Linked DNA regions of Homo sapiens: regions 1, 2 and 4 are each linked to region 3. Evidence: promoter capture Hi-C in human tissues and cell types (Jung and others, 2019). All regions are on one chromosome and are shown on one strand. The core of a region is centred on a gene start or on the middle of the fragment in contact, and the rest is flanking DNA. Distances in the headings are between cores, read along the strand shown. Region 1 overlaps RELN (reelin). Region 2 overlaps RELN (reelin). Region 3 holds the start of RELN (reelin). Region 4 has its middle 86 kb from the start of ORC5.

Region 1 (6,803 bases), core at 2,744-5,243, 190 kb before region 3:
CACCTCATAGGGTAATGGTGAAGGTTTAAAGAATCAACAAAAACCACGTGATTATCTCAATAGATGCAGAAAAGGGCTTCGAAAAAATTCCAAGGTACTGACGGAACATATCTTAAATAATAAGAGCTATTTATGACAAACTCACAGCCAATATTGTACTGAATGGGCAAAAACTGGAAGCGTTCCCTTTGAAAACTGGCACAAGACAGGGATGCCCTCTCTCACCACCCCTATTCAACACAGTGTTGGAAGCTCTGGCCAGGGCAATCAGGCAAGAGAAATAAATAAAGCGTATTCAGTTAGGAGGAGAGGAAGTCAAATTGTCCCTTTTTGCAGATGACATGATTGTATATTTAGAAAACCCCATCGTCTCAGCCCAAAATCTCCTTCAGCTGATAAGCAACTTCAGCAAAGTCTCAGGATACAAAATCAATGTGCAAAAATCAAAGCATTCTTATACACCAATAACAGACAAACAGAGAGCCAAATCATGAGTGAACTCCCATTCACAATTGCTACAAAGAGAATAAAATACCTCAGAAGTAACACCACACATCTACAACCATCTGATCTTTGACAAACCTGACAAAAACAAGATATGGGGAAAGGATTCCCTATTTAATAAATGGTGCTGGGAAAACTGGCTAGTCATATATAGAAAGCTGAAACTGGATCCCTTCCTTACACCTTATACAAAAATTAATTCAAGATGGATTAAAGACTTAAATGTAAGACCTAAAACCATAAAAACCCTAGAAGAAAACCTAGGCAATACAATTCAGGACATAGGCATGGGCAAGGACTTCATGTCTAAAACACCAAAAGCAATGGCAACAAAAGCCAAAATTGACAAATGGGATCTAATTAAAGTGAAGAGCTTCTGCACAGCAAAAGAAACTACCATCAGAATGAACAGGCAACCTACAGAATGGGAGAAAATTTTTGCAATCTACTCATCTGACAAAGGGCTAATATACAGAATCTACAAAGAACTTAAACAAATTTACAAGAAAAAAGCAAACAACCTGATGAAAAAGTGGGCAAAGGGTATGAACAGACACATCTCAAAAGAAGACATTTATGCAGCCAAAAGACACATGAAAAAATGCTCATTATCACTGGCCATCAGAGAAATGCAAATCAAAACCACAATGAGATACCATCTTACACCAGTTAGAATGGTGGTCACTAAAAAGTCAGGAAACAAGAGATGCTGGAGAGGAGGTGGAGAAATAGGAATGCTATTACACTGTTGGTGGGACTGTAAACTAGTTCAACCATTGTGGAAGACAGTGTGACGATTCCTCAAGGATCTAGATCTAGAAATACCATTTGACCCAGCCATCCCATTACTGGGTATATACCCAAAGGATTATAAATCATGCTACTTTAAAGACACATGCACACATATGTTTATTGTGGCACTATTCACAATAGCAAAGACTTGGAACCAACCCACATGTCCATCAATGATAGACTGGATAAAGAAAATGTGGCACATATACACCATGGAATACTATGCAGACATAAAAAGGATGAGTTCATGTCGTTTGCAGGGACATGGATGAAAATGGAAACCATCATTCTCAGCAAACTATCACAAGGACAGAAAACTAAACACTGCATGTTCTCACTCATAGGTGGAAACTCAACAATGAGAACACATGAACACAGGGTGGGGAACATCACACACTGGGGCCTGTTGTGGGGTGGGGGGCAGGGAGAGGGATAGCACTGGGAGAAATACCTAATGTAAATGATGGGTTGATGGATGCAGCGGGCCAGCATGGCACATATATACCTATGTAACGAGCCTGCACGTTGTGCACATGTACCCTAGAACTTAAAGTATAAAAAAAAAAAAGTGACAACCTCTCTGTGCCCCACTAATGATAGTACCCACCTCATAGGGTAATGGTGAAGGTTTAAAGAATTTATCCACACAAAACACTTATCCTGGCACATAGTAAGTTCTCAGTATGTGTTAGCCACAATAATAATTTTGATTTAATATAGTAGTAATTAGTAGTACTAGCAGTAGCAGTAGTAGTAATACAAGTTCTGTGAGGGCAGGGACAACTTCTACTTGTTTACTAATGCACTGGTACGTATTTACATATTTCTGGGGCTTGGCATAATTCGTGGCACATAGTTAAGTGTCAGTATATATTTCTTGAATTACTGAATTAATGAGAAACAAAATAAATACAAACCAGGTTTCCTCTTGGTCAGAAGGTTGTTTGAACATGAAAATAAGAGAACGAAAGTAAGAGCAAGATGAAAGATCAGTAAGTTTCACAAATTCAGGAGAAAATAAATTAAACAATCTTATAGCCCTCAAAATTTAGTCACAGGGTCTTGCAAAACTTTTTAGAGGGAAAAAGAAAAATGATCAAGTGCTAAAGTTTATCATTTTCAATGCCAAAGTAGAATTAAGACATGACTAAATAAATCAAAGTCAACTGATATTTGCTTCATATGATGTAATATGTATGTTACTGAAAAGGTGTATTAGGACATTTAAATATTAAGTACACAGTTAAAAGGATTATTACTGTAAAACAAATCACAATGCCCTAATTGGCCTTTTTTGGTGGACTTGGGTTTTTATATATTAGATTTACTCGTAGACCAAGATTCACCAGAATTTAAATTAATTTAAACATAAAAGTGCTGTAGAAGTCACACAAATTCAAGATACCCAAATGTGAAATTTTGAGAAGCATCTTGTTTAGTAGCAAAAGATAATATTAGCACTGTGCATTAAATCCCTAAGAAAATAAACTAGACTTCTAAGTACCAATAAAATTGCAAGTCTCCTTATGAAATCAGAGTACGGGCTTCATTTAAAGGCACAGATTGGCTTTAGGGATAGATATATAACTACATCTGAAATATCCAAGAAGGGATTTAAAAAGTGTTCCTTTCACATAAAATGTAGATATAAGAATTCCTGCAATGCTTGTATTACTGGCTGAAACAAAAACAAAACCTCCTAATCACCACCATCACAATATAAAACTGCTTTAAGAATGCCAGCAACTTTTTCACATGAAGTAAATCAACAGCATTTGTTTTACAAAGTAATATAACACCGTAATATTATTTTCATTTCTCCAATCAATATGTAGGATGAACATTCCCAGGCCCTATTTCAAAGTGAATTTACATTTGGGTCAAAATAGAATCACCCACATAGATACATGAAAGCCACAGTGTTGAGTCTGTTTTGTGGGCCAAGAATAAGCTCCTTTCTTCCCCTAAAACCCTGTCCAGCTTAATGATTGCAAGACTAAAATACTCCACCTTTACTCCTACTCAAACTTACTTTATAAATGCATTTACGATTGCTGCGTCTTCACTTGCCATTTCACTAAAGACATTAATCTTTTGTTCACACTAATGTACTCACAGTGATGATGATTAAAACACCTTTATATATTTAGTAATTTTAAATACATCTTAACTCTTAATTCATTGACTTTGCTTAATGCTTCTTTATATGCTAGATATCTTTAATATACTCAGTGTTCTTTCCTTATATAATAAACTTTAAGAAGTCAGAGATTGGACAATTAGCACAGTATTCAATAAAAGACACCTGGCTGGAGTGATGATAATTGCAAATTATGACACTAACTCCATGACTACCTGGTTGTCCAATGGTTGATTAAATAAATACTCTTTGGCACTTTCTAAGACTTTATGTTATACTCTATGGGGGATAAATACCCAGTAAACCTTGTTATCAAGTTGCTTAGAGATTGAAATTATATACTCAGCTTCTAAGGGTAGAAGGAACTTAGAGGCTTATACAGTTTTTCAGGCACTCCTGCAAATTATAATGGGTAAAGATCATTATAAGACTCTTGATGACAACCTTGACTACCACATTTCCAGGATAACAGCAACTGGCAAGGTTACAGCTCTTAGGAGTCTGTCATTTTTCTTCTGCTCCTCTCCTAGCAACAGATGCAGTTACAGGAAATGCTTTAGAAACTGGGGTTCACTAGATATTTTTAAAGGTGGAAATTTTTATAAAGGGTGGAAAATGCACCTAAAAATATCTCAAGGCCATAAAAACCACTGAGAATCTTTGAGTTCTGTGTTTAAGATCTTCAAATGACGTGTCATTGGAAAGAAAATCTCCATCATGTAATTAGCTTCACCTTCAGTACTGCTCAGAGAGACAGAGTCTTTATCACATCTAGGCATTTCCTCATCTTGCAGAGGGAAAAAATTCCTACCATTGCAATATTTTTAAATTATTCATATCTTTAATCTTTCTATCTTGCATTTGTTTATGGAAAATTTTTAAAAAGTTGATTCAGTTTGGGGTTAAAAGTAAGGTTATTTCAAGTACATATAAGAATTATTCTAAATTATGTCTAACATACCTGCATGATTGATAACAAAGCCAAAATATTAATGAGGATAAATCCCAAATGTTGTCTGAAGTTGCTGGAAATTTTTTCTATTTCAAATAAAACGGCACTAAATAGTGGTATGAAGAGAAACCCATCATTTATGCTCTGAATGTCTGACAAATTCGGAATAATGCCTGTTATACTATGCAGGTTCACAGCCTGTCAGGTAAGCATTTCTTACTGTGTGGCAGCGACAATGCATATATTAGCTATGTAAATGGAAAATCTACACACAGCTTCCAGGTTAGAATATGTTTAAAGAAATATGGTCATAAATAATGCGTAGTAACACCAAATCTGATTCTGCACTGGCTGGGTATCCACAAATTATTTATAAGGAATAAGAAACAAGATCTTTCAGACAGATCTAATAAACTAATGCATGTTATCACTAAGAAATAATGTAGAAAATAGTAATAGGTTACTTCTTGTAACAAATCAAACTCCTTAATCTTAAATATTAGTTGCAAAAATAGGTTAGAAAACAGCGTGCCCACATTATTCAGTGAGGAGTGGCTTTTTGCAATGTATTTTCTCTCCATTTTTCTTTTGCTAGATATCACATCCAGCCAGCATAGTTTTAATGATAGTTTTAATGTGGGGAAGTAAACAAATTATCATGGATGAGTAACTTGCAATTGTTGCTCATCAGGAGGTCTAGCAGGGACTTGCGTTTCATGAAATAATTTAATATCTAATCGGGTATCTAATATCTATTACATATGCATTATATATAATCAGGTATATAATATATATTCCCTCAGGTTGAGTGGAAAAAAAAAACAACTCAATGTCAAGAAAACTGGATTCTGCTCTTGATTTTGCCACTAACAATCTGGCTGAGTGAACTTGGGTAAATGGTATAACCTGTCTAAGCACCAGATTCTTCATCTGTGAAATGGGAATGATAGCTGCTTGCCTATCTCACAGGATGCTACTGTGAGTACCAAATAAGGCAACAGATGTGAAAGTGCTTTGTAAACAGTAAAAGACAAAATACATGTAGAGAATTAAAATCTAATTTCCCAAAAGTCTTTCTAACCAACTTTAGATATACGAACGTGCATGTGAAATGAGTACATATGTGTGGCACATCCATGCATAAAATCATATAACTGACAACTATATGTGTTGCCAACTTTCAGATTTGTAAAACTGTCATTAAAATTTGAACTCTGTTTTCAATGTTCTAGTCCTCTGGTCTAAATACTTAAAACAACATGCCAAAGTGTGTGTCAGAGACATGAGTGGGTCCACCCCCTCACAAATCCTCCTGAATCCTCCAGCCAATTTCCTTCTAACTGGATTGTAATCTGAAGATTCTTCTCTTAGACTTGGCCTGGTGCTCACTTAATCTTGGAGATGTGCAAGATTGTTCACATTTTGCTGGGTCACAGGCTCTTTTTACTTATCAAAATGTGCTACAATTGGTCCCTTAGTCATTTTTAAAATGAAGTATAAGCCAAATTGTTGGCTTTTCCTTAAGGGACATGCAGAATACAGACACAGAGGAGTCTAGAAGAATGCTGAATAACAAGGAGGGGCTAGAGAGGACAGTGATTGCCATCCCAAGAGCCTTTCTTAACAGCTATTCCATGGGGAAGGAGCATTGACTCACTATGGTCCATAGAATTTTTTTTTCACACAAAAGAGAAAATATGTGGAAGAAAACATGAATTTTGAGTTGATAAGTAAGGAGAAGTCAAGCTTTTACAATTGCAAGGAGTTTTTACCTATCTTGGAAAAAATGCTCTACGCATTGGTAAGGAAAATATAGTATGTATTTTTAGAGAAATCTAAAATAGTCATGCTTAATTTTTCAGGTGACAAGGGCATAATACTACCATATGTAATCAAGAAGAGAAAAAGAGCCAAACATTTCACTAACGTCTGAGCTAAACACCAGATGACTGTTATATCTATTTATAATTATTGGGGAGAGGGACTTCAGCTTAGTCCAGTTGTGAAAATAATCATTATCCTTGCTATTGAGGGGGAATGGAACTCCCTCTAAGCACTTTCTTTCTTTTTTCTTTTTTTTTAGACAGAGTCTCGCTCTGTCACCCAGAATGGAATGCAATGGCGTGATCTCAGCTCACTGCAACCTCCACCTCCTGGGTTCAAGCAATTCTCCTGCCTCAGCCTCCCAAGTAGCTGGGATTACAGGCACCCGCCACCACACCTGGCTAATTTTTGTATTTTTAGTAGAGAAAGGGTTTTTCCACATTGGCCAGGCTGGTCTTGAACTCCTGGCCTCAAGTGATCCACCCACCTCAGCTTCCCAAAGTGCTGGGATTACAGGTGTGAGCCACCATGCCCGGCCATAAGCACTTCTTATGGAAAAATATGATTTATCTCTCCCACATTCTAAGAAAG
Region 2 (6,817 bases), core at 2,459-4,958, 230 kb before region 3:
CCAATTCTGTTAAGAGTTCCCTGTTAGAAAGTGCATGTGAATGTATTTGTGTTTCGATGAACTTTAAATCTCATTCAGAATAACCATACATCTCTGTAATCTTTATCCAGAAATAATGCCATTGAAATTCACAAACATTACAGAAACTATATCCTTTGTAAAGCTTGATCAAGTTCAAGTAACTGGACTGAATTGGAAATTGACCTTAGGTATATCATGGTAACTTAAAGAGTATGCCAAATGTCCTCAGACTGAATTAACTTAATTAAGACCACAGATAAAATATAAAATGTTACACAGGTAAGTTAAAATAAAGGTTCTACTTTGCCTAAAAAACAAGTAAAAGCAAGCCAACAGAATGGAGGAATTAAGGTAGAATCTCTCTAAAATCACCAGGGTTTTTAAAAGCTTTTTTCCAGCTAGGCATTCAGAATGAAAGCCTAGCCTACTTTGACTTGTTTTTAGTTGAAAAAGCCAAATTTCTTTAAAACTATCAATACAAATTGGTAGCAATTTTTACTAGGAAAGTATTGATAAATGAGAATCTACTTAATTTCATAAGTCAAATCCCTCTTGAGAGCAGAGCAGTTAAATGAGAAAAAAATGAAATTTTAAAGTTTTCAGCATAATATAATCTTTTCATACTAGATAAGTAAATAAATGTTATGAGTGTCAAAACCACTCATAAATGTGTACTTATGATTTCTTTTCCAGATTCTTTTTCATGTTTGTGATAGTGCCACTTAAAAGTTATTTGTCCTCCAAATTCTCTCTCCAGTGGGGCCTATCCAGATGATGTTTTGGCAAAATACAAAGATTTAGATCAGCAATGAAATGCTTCAGCAACATTCTAAGTCTTTCCTTAGCCGGGCATTTTCCTAGATGCTTGAGTATTATTAAGTGACCTGAAGATTACATATGTATTTTACTAAGATTTCACAGACTACGCAAAGAGGACAGAAATAGATTTCTAAAATTAATAAGCTTAAACATGTTAAGAATAAAAGTAAACAATCACTGTTTTTAGAAGGTACTTTAAAGTTTGAAAAAAATAGATTGCTTATAGAACTTCTTTTTTAAAAAATTCAACTGTACTATTCTTGAAATGATTTACTAATCACCATAAGCTAGCAAAAGAAAGAGACTGGAACTGCCTTGAATGAACACAAGATCTCTGTACTAATGCAGATTTGATAAAGATAATTATTCAAAAAATAGTGAGGGTGAATGATTACGTGGAACAGTCATGAAAAGACCCAGTTCATAAGATAAGCAATTCATATCACAAGGCTTGATTGAGCCTAACACGAAAGCAAGTAAATTCAGTATCAAAAGTTTCAAAGGAATAACATGCTTCTTGGTCTCTTTAAACAAGGTTATTATTTATTTGCTTAAAATGAAAGCAGAAAAAGTGCATACTGATGCTTTTTTGAATAAATGATGGAAAGCTCTTAGCTCGTATATGTTAACATGTCTCTGTGTTGGTGATAGTTCTAGTCAGAAGAGTTGCAGCTTTTTTCCCAAGAAATATCTTTGGGAAAGGTGAAAAATTATTTTTAAAAAGTCACTATTTTCACTCAGTGTGAATTAATATGGCCTTCATCGCGGTATGAGAAGAACCACTTTTTACTCACTTTTTAAACTTTAAAGTGCAACTAATGTATTGCTTGTCATTAGACAGACTTACTTTGTGAACATTACCTTTAATTTACTAAATATACTTTTGTCTCCAAAATTACCTCCAATTATTTACAGCATCTCACAGATTATAATGAGTGGTTTATCCTTACGACAGTTTCTCTTGCATTAGCACCAGCTGAGCTTTGCAGGCAGAAATGAAAGTTAGAACATTTCTGCAAACTAAAATAGGCAGCAAATATCTCCACATTAGCTTCTGTGACTACATTCGGTCATTGGTGCTCACAGTCATACTTTTTTTTTTTTTTTTTTTTTTTTTTTTTTTTACATCTTAGCATTTCTTTATTTGAATTACTGCATTCAATTAATATTCACTGAATGCCTGTCATACACGAATGCTTTTCTTAATAACATTTTAATAGGTTAAACTATTGGGCCTTTCAAAATAAATATTATAAACATGGATCCTTAGATAGTATCTCAATATTAAATTGAAGCCTAAATTCCTCCCATCATCAATTCAGTTTGTCCAGGAGACAAATCACATGCTAAAAGTTAAAAAAAAAAGCTTCATTTCTTAAAAAGCATTTCTGTGCATATGCTCTTTCAAAAGTTGAGCCTGCCAGAATCTCATAGATCACAGCAGCCTGAAGTAGGCATATTAGAAAGAATGAGGTCGTGTTTAATTCCCCCAAAGGTTATTTTCTTGACATATGTGTTTTTTTCTTTCAACTGACTTATTTTGGATGGAAATTTTAAAGTAATCATCTGACTCCAAAATATAGCAGCACTAATACACTTCAGCCAACTTGTTGAACAAATTACTCAGTGCAAAGAATGGAGACTTAAATATGTGGAGCAGAAAAAGGAAAAGATGCCTGAAAATGAATTCAGGAGGTGGTAAATGAGCTTTGAGCTAATATTATTGATTACTTAAAAAAAAAAGCCTTTGAGTCAGACAAGAATTATATGTAGGTGGCAAGCAATTCTTACAAATACAGGTATTATGTTACAGGGACTATATCTCCTGAATCATTTTGGAATTCAAAGGCCCTAGGTAGTTTTGCCTCAGGTATCTCTTCACCTAATTTGAAATTCAAATGTATTAAACTTCCAAAGCTAAATATGACAAATTAGACATGGGCTCTGAAGTTAGCATTTAATGAGCTATGAACCTAGACTTTCATCTCCCCAGGAATAATTTATTACTTTTTGTATTTTATTGCAATAAAGCACCATTTGACCTTCAAGTATGATAATTAAGCTTCCAAAAATGTTATAAATTTAGAGTGAAAACAGTTCTCCCTGTGTTCAAGAACATACTTATGCTCAGTATAAAAGATTTCTTAATATTTAAAGACAGCTAAATTATACACAGAACCAGCAATATTAGGAATTATTTTTCTCTTCCCTCTCTGATTTTCCACCTCAACTTGATTTATGTCTCAAAACAATTTATCATCTTTCATATTCTAATATAAACGAAATAGGAACAAAATGAAAATATATCTTTATAACCTGCAACTAGGAGATAGAGAACTCTTTCAGATAAGATTTATTCCAATAGGAGCTATAAATAATGGGGCCTCAAACATTAAAAATTATGGCTCATTGTCTTACCATGCTCATGTCACCATCTTTTCTGGGGAGATATCCACACATTTTTCAAAAATTTGCTTACAATATAAATACAAGTTTTAAGTGAAAAATCAGAATGCAAAACAATATCATTTGAATTGTTGGTACATTTTTATTTTTATATTTATTTATATTTTGAGAGAGTGTCTCGCTCTCTTGGCCATGCTAGAGTGCAGTGGTGCATCTTGGCTCACTGCAATCTCAACCTCCTAGGCTTAAATGATCCTCCTGCCTCAGCCTCCCAAGAAGCTGGGACTACAGGCATACAGCACCAAGACCAGTAAATTTTTTTTTGGGGGGGGGTAGAGACAAGATCTTACCACATTGCCCAGGCTGGTCTTGAACTCCTGGGCTCAAGCAATCCACCCGCCTCAGCCTCCCAAAGTGCTGGGATTACAGGCGTGAGCCACCATGCCTGGCCAAATTTTAATTTTTAAAAAATTGTTACTGTGTAGCAACTTTTAAAAATCCTAGACCTTTGAGAACTTGAAGAGATGAAGTTCATAGATGGAGCAGATGTGAGAAATTGCAGGTATAAATTGACCCAAAACCTGAGAACATATGGCTTTTAAGTAACATTTAGAGGTTGGAAGGAAAATCACTAGGCTCAAAAGAGGAAGAAGGAAGAGGAAGAAGTGGAGGAGAAGGAAGAAACCTTGTTGCTAACATCAACAGAAATTGCTAGAGATTTTCCAATGTCTATTCTTCTTTTCTTTATTTCTTTATTTCTCAGCGCCCCCCTATAGCTTCCTGTGACAAAGGAATTAAGTTCTGCCCATATGAGGTGAGCAGAAGTGACTAGGGTCACTTTCAGGGCTGGGTGATGTCCTAAAGGAATGGGCATGCTTCCTTGGCCCTTTCCCCTCCCTGCTGTAGGAGGTGGTGAGTGCTGGAGCAGCCAGCTTGGCGCCTAGATTTGGAAGCTACTTGCTGTGCACAGTAGAACGACCCTGCCAGCCCTAGACCATCTATCTTCAAACTGGTTTATGACTAAGAAATAAACTTCTAGTCATTTAACCCACCCACATGTTGAAGTACTTTGCTTAGTACCTCAAGTACATAGAAGCTTAATTGACACTCTAACTACAATAGTTAATTTCCCATGGGTGAGGAAAGGGTCCCTTTTGGGGAAAAGTTTCTTCTCTTTATCTCAGTCATAATCTTAAAGGCCACAGTAGCAATTAGAGCTGATCCAACTGCAAATTCCTGTGAGTAGAGAGACTCTATCTTGAATATCTCTGCATTCCCAATGCTGAGCACAATGTCTCACACATGGCAGTTCCAAAAATGCTAGCTGAATGGATTCTGATAACATCAGCAAGCCAATATTACTAAAACCATTGTTGTTAGAAAATTCTAATCATCTCCTCTGTTCCTTTTCTTCCTTATTGCTTGTACATATGTCATCTTCTTCCTTCACTTTTCTTCATATTTCTTTTCACTTTCCTTTACATACCTAAGGATGAATTGTATAATCTGTCTTGCTCTAAGATAGATTTAAGGCAGCTTACAAAAAAAGGCAGACAGCTGAACAAGATAATAAAGGGGGGAATCAAAGATGACAAACGAGGGTAGAAAAATAATACATGCCATTTTGAGATATGTATGCAAGATGCATGCCCCCAGGACTTCAATTTGGTTCTCAAGCCATAAAGTTACAGAAATAGAAGAGTTCATAACTTTAAAAGAACACATATTATTCAGGAGAAGGACAGTTATTGCAGGTACACAGACTGTATAGAAGTTTCTTCTGTAGTTTCTCATACAGGACAGTGAGCAATAAAGCAAACATCATCTCAAATACCATGTAACCAACTCTGAGTTTTGTTAGGCTACTCCTAGTAAAGTTCATCAATGAAAAAAGAGTGCACAATGCCTAAATACAGATATAAAAGCACTTCTGGGGACATGGGAGGTACAGACTGGCTGGCAATTAAAGAAATAAGAGTAATTCGGCATTTTTGGAAAAGTGTCCTTGCTTTATATGGTTCATTCATTTCCTAAACTAATATTTGAGTGCCTGCTAAGTGTCAGGTACTGTGCCAAGTTCTGGGAATGTAAAAATGATCCAGTCTCTTCTGGATCAAGGGATCCAAAGTGTAGTATAAAATACATTTAGAAGTCAATGCATTACATACAATATGGTAAACTAAATTCAGTTAGCAAATATAAGGTGGGAGAGTGATAAAAATAAAGATGATATAGGAGGAGACACTTGAACTGGATCTTTAAGGATGAGCGCAACTTCATCAGTTAGACAGCAGAGGAGGTATGGAGGAAAGTACACCAGGGAAAGGAGTTGGCATATATGAGCTACAGTGATAGGGTCAGGATGGCATCTCTGATGAAGGACATACTTATTCCAGCTGAAATAAAGAGTCTGGTGTCAGGTGAGGGTGATGGGTGTGGAAAGATCTAAATGTGGAGATGACGTTGGAGAGAGAGAGAGGTGGGACAGATCAGGGAAGTCCTGAAATCCAGGCTGAACTGGGGGGAAACAGAGGGCAGTTATAGGGTTTGAGGCCAGGAGCATTTTGATCAATGTGTGAAAGGCCTGAATAAAAAAAAATGGCAGTGGGCATGGAAAGAAAGGGGTTGGTTTAAGAGACATTGTGTAAATTGGCCTTAGACACACTGGATATAGACATGGATGACCACAAGGAATAAGCAAAGAAATGTGTTACCTAGGTCTCTGTTTAGTGACTGGGGTGATGATGAAGATGCTAACCAGAACTGCAATAGAGGGGTACAGATTTGGGACGGACTAAAGTTCAGTTTAGAATATATTGAGTTCAAGGTGCCTAAATGACACCCAAATGTAGTGTTTAGTAATAGTAGTGAGAGCTAACATCTACGGAGTATGTGCTAGCCACTATGCTATGCACTTCATCACGACATTTAATCCTCACAACCTTATGATGTTCCTTCTGGGCACAAAATATTGTACCAGGCTCTTGGGAATGGTATGCAGTGGCCAAAAAGGTTGATACTATCCCTTTCCCTATTTTACAGATGAGAGAATTGAGACTCAAAGATTTCATGGCTAGAAAGTGCCAGAGCAGAAATTCTAACTCAGAGTATAGGTAACTGCAAACTTCATGCTCACAATCATTTTACCTTCTTGACTCTTTGTATAAGCACCAAGGAAGTGGAGAGCTAGGGAGATGAAAATTATAGGTGTGAGTGAGTTCAACAGGGACAATATAAAAGCACAAAAAGAAGGCCAGGCATGGTGGCTCATGCCTGGAATCCCAGCACTTTGGGAGGCTGAGGCGAGTGGATCATGAGATCAAGAGATTGAGACCATCCTGGCCAACATGGTGAAACCCCATCTCTACTAAAAATACAAAAATTAGCTGGGCATGGTGGTGCATGCCTGTAGTCCCAACTACTCGGGAGGCTGAGGTAGGAGAATTGCTTGAACCTGGGAGGCGGAGTTTGCAGTAAGCCGAGATCGCACCACTGCACTCCAGCCTGGTGACAAGAGTGAGACTCCTCTCAAAAAAAAAAAAAAAAAAAAAGTGCAAAAAGAAGCCCAACC
Region 3 (6,410 bases), core at 3,479-5,978:
ATATCATCTGGTATTTGAAAGGTCATTAAATTGCACTTCCTTTGAACAAGAATTTTTAAATAGCAACCAGTTAATTTCAGAACACGTGTGCCTTTAACAGTAATACTGGAAATTGTCAAAATAAAGTGCCCTCAATACTCTATCCTGATTATACCTTTCTTTTAAGTAAATGTTTAGTTTTAGGAATAGAACATTGATTTTCCTGTCTGTCTCACAGTATAATTTTTTTTTAAAGTGGGAGTAGATATACAGCATGAAAAAATTACCAATAGTGATGCCGGACTTACAAAATACAGTAAAATCCCCCTTTTAAAACATCATGCCACATCACCAATTCAATTCTACTCAAGGCCAAATTTTTTTCTCTCAGTTGATATTTTAGAGCATACTTCTCATTGTTAATGGAACACTTCCCCCATCTTATGCTACCATAGTAACAGAAATTCTAGTCCATTCAGAAATTTAGGTACATTGTCTCACCAAAGCTCAAGTATTTTGGGTAGACTCATTTACTTAACGCTTGTCTTTCATGCACAATGTCTTCTTCTAATGGCTGACCTCTCCTTTTTGATGGGGACTGAATAAAGCCAACCTTGTGAGGGGCAGTTCCTTACTGACATGATTTCAGGGGCATCCAAGTCTTTCTATCCCCATATCTATTATCTGGCTGTTCAGTGATGCTAAACTTACTTTAAGCAAAGAGGGGAAAGACATCTTTCTACAATTACAATAAAAAATGTGGGAAAGTTTAACACTGACAAGTCACATTCACCATAAATTGATTGGGGGCAAGGCGAGGAGTGGCAAACAAAATGGATGGTAGATACCTGATGGCTGGGGGTGAGGAAAAGGAACGACCATGGGTGAGGAAAGGTGCAGACTTCAATCCAACCATCACACTTTTCACAATACTGCCTTTGTCCCTAGGAGAAGGTGTGCTGATTACGGGGCATGGCTGGAAAACAGAAATGGCTACCTGACTAAACCATGTAGGTTCTTGTTTCCTATTTCCCCATCATTTGCAACTTTCTACCACACAAAACAAAACAAAACAAAAAATTCCAGGTTTGGTGCCCGAAACGCACATTGCGGAAACTGACCATGTCTTAGGATTTGTGCAAAAAAAAAGGAAATTCTAGGAAAAAAAAAATGTTCTGACCCTGAGACCTTTCTAATTCAACATGATGTATAGAGACCTCCTTTCGCTGAGCTTCTACATTGTGGTATACTCATGGTTCATTGTGACTAATAATGCCCTTTCAAAAGAGTCAGAGATAACATAATTTAAAAGATATATGAAGATGAGAAAGAGATACCAAATGACATTTAATTGAGAGATGAGAACACACCAGATGTAACCATGCACTATTTATAGAGTTGCCAGTACTGAAAATAGATGGATATACTACTTAATGTAAAAATCTGTGACAATTCTGTTAGACTCGAAAGCTCCAGATTTTTTAGTACTATATATTTTTTATTTTTGTTAAAGATATTCCATAGATATATTTAAATACGACACATACAGGGACCTATAATTGTGAACCACTTTTATTCTAGACTGGCAATTGCTGCCCCATTTTACATTCTGAGCTCTGCCACACACCCCAGTGTCAGAGGGCAGCTGACTGATCTACAGAAATGTTCTATGTTAGGTGCTATTGTGCACACCACCTCTATCTCAATGCATTCTTTTAGGTAAAAAAAAAAAAAAAAAAAAAAAGTCACAACTATCAGCTCTACACCTAAACATGGTTCATTCAAATGGTGACTTCAATGTAAATCATAAATGTGACTGATTTTTTCTGATATAACTGTTACACTTTAAAGATCCAGAAGGTTAGAAATAAAGTCTCAAGCTAACATTTTACACATTTCTTGTAAGTTTAAGAAGACTTCTTGGGCAAAAGACCTTTCATTTTGGTCACATATCAAAATGGGCCAACCACAAAAGTACATGAGATTAAGTTTTCCTATTGGCAGTTCAATTCTAACAGAAGCTGTGTGTGTGTGTGTGTGTGTGTGTGTGTGTGTGTGTGTGTGTCTGAATTTTTTAAATTAATTTTCAAAAGCCTAAAAGGAAAAGAGACATACATAAGCATCACTTCATTTTTAAACATGTATTCTACCTGTAGAACATTTTACAAAAAAAAAAAAAAAAACTCTTACTTTAAGGCCTATAGCTACAGCTAGTTCCAAAATCTAAATGTTTAATAAAATAGATAACAGAAATTTAAAATCTGACACAATTCTCAAAGCTTATAATAATTTGACCTTTCATAACTTACATAATACAATTTCTCTACCTTTTCTGGTGGTGGAAAAGAGGTGGAAATTGAGATTCTCCTCCGCAATGTCCAACTTGAAGTATTTACACTTTATTTCTACTCTATGTTATCCATTCCTTTTCAGACTTAGATATGTGATTATGGTGAGTCTTAAGGTGACTTGCATTTGCTATTCAAGGGTGCAAGGGAGCAAAACCAAAGGGTGTATGATATTTTGGTGTTTTTAGTTAAGTTTTCAATATCGAGACCTTCCAAAGGATGTGGAAAACAGAAAAAATAATAATAAAGCTTTGTATCATCACATGGTCTTCCATCATAACCTGACAGTCACGCCTTTGAGACCAGCCTCACTCACTTACCCACCGTTCTCACTGAGAGATCATACCGGGCAAGAACTTTTGCTAAGAGTCGCACGGAGCAGCAGGCTGTCAATCAGGCTTTGGGTTAGGTCTGGTTGCCATCACAGTAGCTGCTCCTTCCACTTAAAGATTCTCATTATCTCAGAAAAGCACTAGATTGTTCTTGGGAAGAGGGCGTAGTAAGCACTTTTATCTAAAAAGGGACTAGTTACAGAACATTAATTTTCCAAAATTATTTCTAAAATTCCACCAAATTAAACTTCTGCTTTACAGACAAGGCTGCCACCATGCCACAAGGAAGTTGTAAAAGCACTGTTTAAAACCTCTAGGAGACGTTTATTTAGGCTAAATATTTTATAATAGATATCAAGGTTTTTTTAAAAACAGAAAAATCTTAAGGATTCTTACAATTTTTAAATGCTTGTCTATCTTAAGTGCTAGCACCCCGTAGATTATCTCCCGCCATGCCAATGATTGTTAGCCTATTAGAGATAGAAACTATTAACAGGAGCCTACTGGACAATGGTTTCTATTTGGTTGGGTATAAATATTTTGGGGTTGAAATTCTAATTAAATAGTGCCTGTCGCTGCTTAAAAGCTCTATAGGCATGAAATGTTCAGAAGTCCCAGAAGAAATACAGAAAAGAGACATTTTTTATTTTTCCACATACTCGATGTACTAGCTTAAAATACATGTACTACATAATATTATATTTCTTGGAGCTAAATTTTATTTCTTCTGTAATGTTTATTTTTGATGCAGGGCTGCATAATGATTCCATTTTTAAGATACCTCTAAATTATAAGGGATTCCAGCCTCTACCTGGAAATTAAAGCTGTGCAGATAAAATACAAAGTCATTAATAAACATCACAAAGATAATTCTAACAAGAAGCACCATGTAAAAGTAAGGCAGGAATCAGAAAAATCATCAATTACTGACATATTAAATCACACTTTCAAAAGAATAGGGAGCTGGAAGCAGCCGCTCCCTTTCAGGAGGGCTGTATGACACTGAATGAAATGCCAGGGACTCCTGGCTGGTGAGCAGCGGGAACTTTGCGGTCGAGCGGCGCGGGGCAGCCACAGACCTGGGCGCTTCAATCTGTCACCAGCCTGCCCGCAAAGCCCAGCGACAGCCCCCAACGCCCCCCCGGGGACCCATCTGGGGGGACCGGGAGCAGGACAAAGGTCTGAAATCCAAGTCCTAGGAGTAAAGAAACAAAATGCGCAGGTTCAATTTAAAGTGCCTGCGGTAAGTACGGGGAGTGAGGGGGAAAGACACCGGCCTCCAAGAATTCTCAGGCGTTTAGCACAAGCACCAGCTCATTACCAGGAGATGCGTTCGGGGAGTGGGGACATGGAGAATGAATCCCAACTTGTGACTCCATTCTCCACTAACTTTATTCTCGCTCCCTGGACCAAGCGCATCGCTGGGGCCAGGGTTGTCATGGTTCTTGTTTCCAAGGCCCCTTGGAAGAAGGAAAGGGATGAGAAAGGTGCGCTGGCGGGCGCACCCGGCGGCGGCGAGCGCGGAGGTGCTGCGGTACCTACCATGGTATTCTTGTCCCGGAACGTAGTAGGTGGGGTTGCCCGCAATATGCAGGGAAATGAGCACCTCGCCCTGCTCCCCATCCCCTTCCAGCTCCCCGTGGTGGGTGCACAGGAAAAAGAAGGGCGAAAAGCGGGGGTAATAGCCAGCCGCCGCGCGCGCCCTCAGCGTCGCCCCCAGCAACAGCGCTAGGAGGAAAGTCTGCCGGGCCCAGCCACTGCGCTCCATGCCGCCGCCGCCGCCGCCGCCGCCGCGCGCCCTACGCGCCGCTCGCTCATTCAGTTTTGGAGACGCCGGGACGGAGGAGCCACGCGGAGAGAAGGCGAGAAGAAGGCGGACGGGAGCGGAACGGGCTCGGGAGCGGGCCTGGGAGCGGGCCCCCGCCGAGAAGTTCCGCGGGAGACGGCGGCTCCCAAAGTTACTTTGGGCCGCGGGAGCGCGGGACCGGGGCTGCGGGCGCCGAGAGCGCGTCGTCTGCCGCCTCCGTGCGCCGCCGCCGCCTCTGCGCGACGCCCCTCGGCCAGGCCTGGGAAAGCGCCCGCCCCGCTCCACACCTTCTTAAAGCCCCGGGCGCCGCGTCCCCCCCGCCGCCGCCACACGTGTCCCGGCCGCTCCCCCGCCCCCGCGCGCCGCCCCGCCCGCCCCCCGCCCTCTCGGGCTGGCTCGGCGGCACCTCGCGCGGCGAGGGGCGCACGCGTCCCCGGAGTCCCCGGCCAGCGCCCGGTTCGCACCCGGGAGGACAGGGAGGGGCGCCCGCCGGGGAGCGGGACGGGGACGCTGTCGAGGACCGCTGAGCCCGCGACTCTTCTGCGAGGGACGTCAAAGCCCCGCAGAGGGCACCTCCCGTCCAGCTGTCTGAAGGGGAAGGCCAGCCCCTTTGGCCGTCAGTGTGCCCTGTTTTTCCTGGGAGGATGCGTGAGGGAAGGAGAGGGGCGGCAGGGACGGCCGCTGGCGCCGGTTTCTTTGTCTGAGCCGGCTGCGTCCCGCGCCCCTCGGGGCTCGCAGTCTGCCAGTCCGGGCGGCCCGCACTCGTTCTGGGAATCCGCCCGAGGCCGCGAACCGCTAGGGGCCCTCGCGCTCCCTTCCCACCCAGGCCCCCTGTCCCTCCCGCCGCGGCCGCCCGGCCCCTCGCGGCAGCGACAGAGCCTCATCTGTAGAGGATTTTAAAATGAGATTAAGCGAAAGTGGAATTGGCAGACTCGAGTGGTGCCTGGAAATGGTGATTTGTGCTGCTCGGTTGTGGGGAATTGTAAGGCAGGAAGGGCTGGCGGAGCTAAGATCCGACAGGCTCTCTTCGCCGGACTGTTCTGTTATTCATTGCTTCTGGGCTCTTCAGGCAGAGATGGGTGTTGTAATTTTTTAAATCAGTGTTTATTTCCTTTAAATGTCGGTTATGACCAATGGCCCTGAAATCGGGGGAGGGAAAAACGTTCAGGGGAGATGCTGGCAGCGGTGATTGAAGCGGGTGGTAATGAGCGGCTGCACATGAACTGCAGGGAAGTGAAATAATCCATAAGCACGTTTTTAACCGAGGACGGCTGGCAGGAGCCCTGCGGCATCCGGAGATGGGGGAGCGGGGTTGCCAGGTTTTAATGCCTCTCCCCACCCACCCTTGGCTTGCCACCAAGCCAGATAAACCCGCACGTACAGAAATGAGTAGATTATAAAATTGGAAGGGATAGTGCCTTTGCCTGCATTTGTGGGGCGAGGGGCGGTGAAAATCAGGGTCCAAGGGGAGACCTCTGTAATCACTTCGTTGCAAAAGGAAGAAATTGTTTTTCTTCCTCTTACTGAGACCGAATGACAGGTAGAAAGGGCCCATTTCTAGCTGGCTTCTTGTTTCCCTTACTTCAAAATCCCCAGAGGCTTAACTGCCATATAAATAATATACAGTGTATACATATATGTATGTGCATATATATATATATGATGTGGTAACAATTGCTACACTGTAGCTCTGCGGGGTGCAGGCTGTGGGGCTAGACGTACTTTAGCTTTTTAATCCTAACACCAACTGGAGAGGCAAAAAATATCCCTATTTCACAAGGGAGGAGGCACTCAGAAATGTTGATAACTTGCCCAAAGTCAGTGACAAAGGCTGGATGCAGGGCAGACTGGCTGGCCTCAGAGGCTCTTGTCCTGCACTGCCCTGCCACAGTCGACAGCCCTAGCTGGAGCAGGTGGTGTTGCCCCAAACAGAATTAGGAGATA
Region 4 (6,572 bases), core at 2,351-4,850, 130 kb after region 3:
TGAGACTGGGTAATTTATAAATAATAGAAATTTATTTCTTACAGTTCTGGAGACTTGGAAGTCCAAGATCAGGGCACTAGCAGATCTAATGCCTGATGAGGGCTGCTCTCTGCTTCCAAGATGACGCCTTGCTGTGTCCACTGCAGGGAAGGAACACTATTTCCTCACGTGGTAGAAGGTCAGAAGGGCAAAACAGCAAAAGGGATGAATGTTGTATCCTTACATGGCACAGGAAGCGGAAAGGCAAAAAGGAGTGCAGAGCTCCCTCACACTTCTTTTACAAGATCACTAATCCATTCATGAGGGCAGAGGCTTCATGACCTAATCACCCCCTAAAGGCCCCACCTTCATGTAACACTATCATATTGGTGATTAAGTTTCAACATAAGAATTTTTGAAGGACACAAACATTCAAACCATAGCAGATACCTAACAGAAATCTCTGACTTGCTATGCCCATACCCAAAGCCCTGATTCTATCCCTCTTACCCCTCAAATTGTTCCTCCAGTCTTCATCTCGGCTAGGGACAACCCCACCCTTCCAGATGATCAGGTTAAAAACCCCAAAGTCATCCTTGACTTTCTTCTTTCACAACTGATATTCAATTAATTAGCAGGTCCTATAGAAGTTTCTTTCAAATTATATCCAGAATCTGACAACTTCTCACCCCCTGCACTGCTAACACCCTTATCTGAGCCATTATTTCTCACCTGCATTATTTTAATAGCCTCCTAGCTGATCTTCCTGCTTTCTCCTTTGACTCCCTATAGCCTATTCTCCATATAGTATTCAGTAATCCTTTTCAAAATCTAAGCCAGATGATGTGACCCCCTCTGCTTAAATATCTCCAGTGCTTTTTTTTTATTTTATTGTTATACTTTAAGTTTTAGGGTACATGTGCACAGTGTGCAGGTTAGTTACATGTGTATACATGTGCCATGTTGGTGTGCTGCACCCATTAACTCATCATTTAGCATTAGGTATATCTCCAAATGCTATCCCTCCCCACTCCCCCGACCCCACAACAGTCCCCAGAGTGTGATGTTCCCCTTCCTGTATCCATGTGTTCTCATTGTTCAATTCCCACCTATGAGTGAGAACATGTGGTGTTTGGTTTTTTGTCCTTGTGATAGTTTGCTGAGAATGATGGTTTCCAGTTTCATCCGTGTCCCTACAAAGGACATGAACTCATCATTTTTTATGGCTGCATAGTATTCCATGGTGTATATGTGCCACATTTTCTTAATCCAGTCTATCACTGATGGACATTTGGGTTGGTTCCAAGTCTTTGCTATTGTGAATAGTGCCACTATAAACATACGTGTGCATGTGTCTTTATAGCAGCATGATTTATAATCCTTTGGGTATATACCCAGTAATGGGATACCTAGGTCAAATGGTATTTCTAGTTCTAGATCCCTGAGGAATCGCCACACCGACTTCCACAATGGTTGAACTAGTTTACAGTCCCACCAACAGTGTAAAAGTGTTCCTATTTCTCCACATCCTCTCCAGCACCTGTTGTTTCCTGACTTTTTAATGATCACCATTCTAACTGGTGTGAAATGGTATCTCATTGTGGTTTTGATTTGCATTTCTCTGATGGCCAGTGATGATGAGCATTTTTTCATGTGTTTTTTGGCTGCATAAATGTCTTCTTTTGAGAAGTGTGTGTTCATATCCTTCGCCCACTTTTTGATGGGGTTGTTTTTTTCTTGTAAATTTGTTTGAGTTCATTGTAGATTCTGGATATTAGCCCTTTGTCAGATGAGTAGGTTGCAAAAATTTTCTCCCATTTTGTAGGTTGCCTGTTCCCTCTGATGGTAGTTTCTTTTGCTGTGCAGAAGCTCTTTAGTTTAATTAGATCCCATTTGTCAATTTTGGCTTTTGTTGCCATTGCTTTTGGTGTTTTAGACATGAAGTCCTTGCCCATACCTATGTCCTGAATGGTATTGCCTAGGTTTTCTTCTAGGGTTTTTATGGTTTTAGGTCTAACATGTAAGTCTTTAATTCATCTTGAATTAATTTTTGTATAAGGTGTAAGGAAGGGATCCAGTTTCAGCTTTCTACATATGGCTAGCCAGTTTTCCCAGCACCATTTATTAAATAGGGAATCCTTTCCCCATTGCTTGTTTTTGTCAGGTTTGTCAAAGATCAGATGGTTATAGATATGCGGCATTATTTCTGAAGGCTCTGTTCTGTTCCATTGATCTATATCTCTGTTTTGGTACCAGTACCATGCTGTTTTGGTTATTGTAGCCTTGTAGTATAGTTTGAAGTCAGGTAGTGTGATGCCTTTGTTCTTTTGGCTTAGGATTGACTTGGCAATGCGGGCTCTTTTTTGGTTCCATATGAACTTTAAAGTAGTTTTTTCCAATTCTGTGAAGAAAGTCATTGGTAGCTTGATGGGGATGGCATTGAATCTATAAATTACCTTGGGCAGTATGGCCATTTTCACAATATTGATTCTTCCTACCCAAGAGCATGGAATGTTCTTCCATTTGTTTGTATCCTCTTTTATTTCATTGAGCAGTGGTTTGTAGTTCTCCTTGAAGAGGTCCTTCACATCCCTTGTAAGTTGGATTCCTAGGTATTTTATTCTCTCTGAAGCAATTGTGAATGGGAGTTCACTCATGACTTGGCTCTCTGTTTGTCTGTTATTGGTGTATAAGAATGCTTGTGATTTTTGCACATTGATTTTGTATCCAGTGCTTCTTAACTCACACAGAATAAGAACCAAAGTCTTTCAATGACCTGTAAGACCACACACCACCTGGCCCCCAATCACTTCTGATCCCATCTACTACCACAATTACCCTTGTTTCCTGTGTTCTGATCACATTGGCCTTCTTGCAGTCAGAGTTCCTGTGTTTTGGAAGCAGATAGGCAAGATACTTGGGGGAAGCATAGGCATGGACAATAAGCAGTCTCTGCCATACCAATTCAAATTTTGAGATGACATAAAATATATTCCGTCTGCATCCCATAGTATTATTTTCAGCCTACTATGTTCTGTGTGGTGATTTAAAGCCTGTCTCCAAGTTCTTTAATATCAAGTGGGTCTAATTCCCTTCCTGTTAAGTATAGGCAGGCCTTTATCCCTGCCTCAACAAACAGAATGGTACAAAAGTGATGCTCTGTGACTTCTGAGGCTAGGTTAGAAAAGGCCATGCAGCATCTGCTGTTTCTCTTGGGATGCTTGCGTTAGAACCTAGTCACCATGCCATGAGGAAGTAGAGAGAGCACATAGAAAGCCCATGTGATCTAACATTCTCCATAGAATTAAGACTCTAAGAGGGTTTGATTTTTCCTTCCTGAGCTAGATACTAAATAAGATCTAGCCATGTCTCGTTACTGCCACTTCACTTGCTGAGGAGAATCAGGGTTATACGAACAGTGGAGAACTGTTATTTGAAAAAAAATACAACTTGTAGTTCTTGACAAACAATGGTGATGATCACTTTCTATATATTTTCCTAAACTCACTTCAACATGGTTTCTCCCTCACCATGTGATGGATACTACTGTAAGAATTAAGACCTCCAAATCACCAAATAACCATCTCTATCCTCATGATGCCTACATTTATACTTGCAGCAACTCTGATCTCCAGTCTAGATCCAACTACCTGTTTCACATTTCCACTTGGATTTCTCACAAGCACTTTAATGGCAACTGAACTCATAATCTTCTCCACCCCTACAGGCCTAGTCCTCCCCCAAGATTTTCTATTTCAGAGAATGACTCTACCAATGCTGGTAGTACCTATTATCCAGGCCAGAAACTCTCTCATTCTGTATAACTCATGTATCCCATTCACCTAACACAATGCCTGGCACATAACTAGTATTTAGAATCTGTTGAATTAAACACTTTTAGGGAAACCGCCATTAAATCGAACCCTCAACTCCTTGAAAGAAAAATGAAATGGATTACGGTTTATCTAAAACCCAAGCAAATCTCCAATCCTCTAAAACCCAGGCTCTTTCCAACATGCCAAAGCTACGACTATTTACTCGAACAGTTGAATGCTTTCTAAAATTCCCATCATTACTGTGCATCAACATGCAGTTATGAATGAATTGATTATAATTTTCTCTGCTCTACCAAATTTCTACTTCTCATACTGTGTCTCATGAATGTGTGCCACTGCTGGAAAATGAACATTAACTGTGTATTCAGGGCATTTAATGACAAACTTGAGTGAAATGTTGTTATCTTTATAGGAAAGATTTTGTTGAGCTCTACTAAGCATTTTTGAAAGCAAAGTGTGATAGCAGAGTGAAATTACATGCGAAATTATCTAAACTATTCACATGTTAGGCAGCCACACTTTGTAGTAGATGAAGCTTTCTAAATGTAGGAGATGAAGCTGAATAATATCAACCTCTGGTCAAATTAACTCCAATCCAAGCTTCTGCCTATGGCTAAAGGCACAAAATGCAAACAATTATAGTACACAATAGTGTGAGAATTCAGGTAGCAATGGAGGACACTATTACACATGAGACAGTTTCTGAATTTCATCTGCTATTTTTGATACTTATTGAGTACTTAATGTGATAGGAGATGCATTATTCCTGGACTTGGTCCCTGACTTTTCTTTGGAATGTACAAGCAGAGTGATGCATACTTTGGAGAGACTGAGTGGGCTTCTTACAGTCTGAGTTTTTCATGCTCCAGACCATCTTAATTACATTAATCAGTTGTTGGTTAACTAAATCTGTTGGAGGTATACCACTAATTGTTCAGCCAGTACACCTTGAGGGAAAAAAATGTAAGTCCTCAGTCACCTGCTCTCTGATTTGATAATTCTCAGCTATAATTTTGACCTATCCCACAGGATATTGAAAAATAAGTAATGAAATCTGTGTACGGATTGGAACCCAGTAGATAACACTTCAATTTTAAAAATTAAAATCCAAGGTATTGTTTCCATTTGAGTAACTCCAAAATTTAAACAAGAAATAATTTTTCTAGGTATGAGGTAAGATTACAGTAAAAAAGGGATGTGCCTCTTTCTAGTAAGAATGTCACATTCCCTCATTTACCTCCTTTCTAGCCCACAAAGACACATTTCAGGATAATAATAGCTTTATTGAACAATTACTCTGTGCCAGGTACCTTACTTAGATCAGGGTTTCTCAACCTCTGCACAAGTGACATTTGAGGGTCAGATTATTCTGTTATAGGATATTAATTTTAGTATACAGTAGTCCCCCTTTATCCACAGGGGCAATAAGTTCCAAGACCTCCAGTGGATGGCTAAACCCTCTAACAGTCCTGAACCTGATTACCATAATTTGAACACATTTCGGTTCACATCTTCTGCCTTTTCCATCTTAACTAAGCACTTATCATGCACTGTGGCCACAACTCTTGCAGTTTGAGGTACAACAGCAAAACTAGCATGAATTTTTTTTCTTCTTTACAATTTCACAGATAGAAGATTCATTCTTACCACATTCTTAGCAACTTCAGCATATGATGTTTTTCTTTCCTTATTGAGAACTTACACCTTTTCACTTAAAGGAAGCACTTTACAGCTTCTCTTTGACATATCCAAATTGCCAGCATGACTACTCTTGCACTTTGGGGCCATTAAGTAAAATAAGAGTTACTTGAATGCAAGCCCTGAGATACTGCAAGAGTCAATCTGATAACCTAGACAACTACTAAGCAACTCACCGGTGGGTAGTATGGACAGCATGGACAGGCTGGGCAAAGGGATGATTCACATCCTAGGCGGGACAGCATGAGAGTTCGTCACACTACTCAGAAAAGCATGCAGTTTAAAACTTATGAGCTGTTTATTTCTGGTGTTTTCCATTTAATATTTTCAGACCACAGTCTGAGGATGACAGACAGTAACTGAACTCAAGGAAAGCAGTATCATGGGTAAGTGGGGACTACTGTATTTCTGGTGTTTTCCATTTAATATTTTCAGACCACAGTCTGAGGATGACGGACAGTAACTGAACTCAAGGAAAGCAGTATCATGGGTAAGTGGGGACTACTGTATTTCTGGTGTTTTCCATTTAATATTTTCAGACCACAGTCTGAGGATGACGGACAGTAACTGAACTCAAGGAAAGCAGTATCATGGGTAAGTGGGGACTACTGTATTTAGCAGCATCCCTGGCCTTTACCCTCCCCACACCCAGTTGTGACAACCAAAACTGTCTCCAGAAATGACTACGTTTGCCGGCGGGCAAAATGTCCCTAGTTGAGAACTACTGCCTTAGATATATTCATTTATTTAATCCTGTAAAAATGCTACGAAGTAAATTCTACTTTCCACTATACAGGTGAGAAAGTCACAGAGACACATTAAATAACTTGCCTAAGGCCAGACAGCCAGTAGCAATACAGCTGGTATTTGATCCAAGGATTCCAGAGCCTGGAGTCTCAACTGCTATCTTGGTATCAAGACTTTGACCCCTTTATGACTAATGAGATGAGGCTTGGTAGATCACAATCTCTTCCAGAGTTGTTGAAAGGAATTGCTGCATCAACGAAAGCTTGAAATGGGCTTGAAAATGACTTGAAAGTAAGAGGGAAGAGGGAGTAA

Evidence for each region. The method cuts DNA at HindIII sites, captures the fragments that hold promoters and counts their contacts. A contact is called where the count stands out against the background at its distance.
Region 1: a contact is called between a fragment that was not itself captured here and the fragment with the promoter of RELN in region 3, in 1 of the 25 tissues and cell types used here (mesendoderm cells).
Region 2: a fragment that was not itself captured here is called in contact with the fragment with the promoter of RELN in region 3 in 4 of the 25 tissues and cell types used here (IMR-90 fibroblasts, heart left ventricle, mesendoderm cells and 1 more).
Region 4: a fragment that was not itself captured here is called in contact with the fragment with the promoter of RELN in region 3 in 2 of the 25 tissues and cell types used here (liver and thymus).

Annotation. Positions count from the first base shown.
Region 1 is chr7:103,799,875-103,806,677 of GRCh38, forward strand. All of the region lies in intron 3 of RELN (reelin), which reads right to left. Among named protein-coding and RNA genes, the nearest start is that of RELN, 190 kb to the right of the region's middle. The HindIII fragment of the contact is 5,714 bases long and covers 1,137-6,803 here.
Region 2 is chr7:103,758,059-103,764,875 of GRCh38, forward strand. The region is part of intron 4 of RELN (reelin); the gene reads right to left. Among named protein-coding and RNA genes, the nearest start is that of RELN, 230 kb to the right of the region's middle. The HindIII fragment of the contact is 4,227 bases long and covers 1,596-5,822 here.
Region 3 is chr7:103,984,930-103,991,339 of GRCh38, forward strand. RELN (reelin) reads right to left here and starts at 4,729. Exons shown (of 65, transcript NM_005045.4): 1 at 4,202-4,729. The coding sequence starts at 4,427. The HindIII fragment of the contact is 8,012 bases long and covers 2,418-6,410 here.
Region 4 is chr7:104,118,253-104,124,824 of GRCh38, forward strand. No RefSeq gene overlaps it. Among named protein-coding and RNA genes, the nearest start is that of ORC5, 86 kb to the right of the region's middle. The HindIII fragment of the contact is 3,735 bases long and covers 1,734-5,468 here.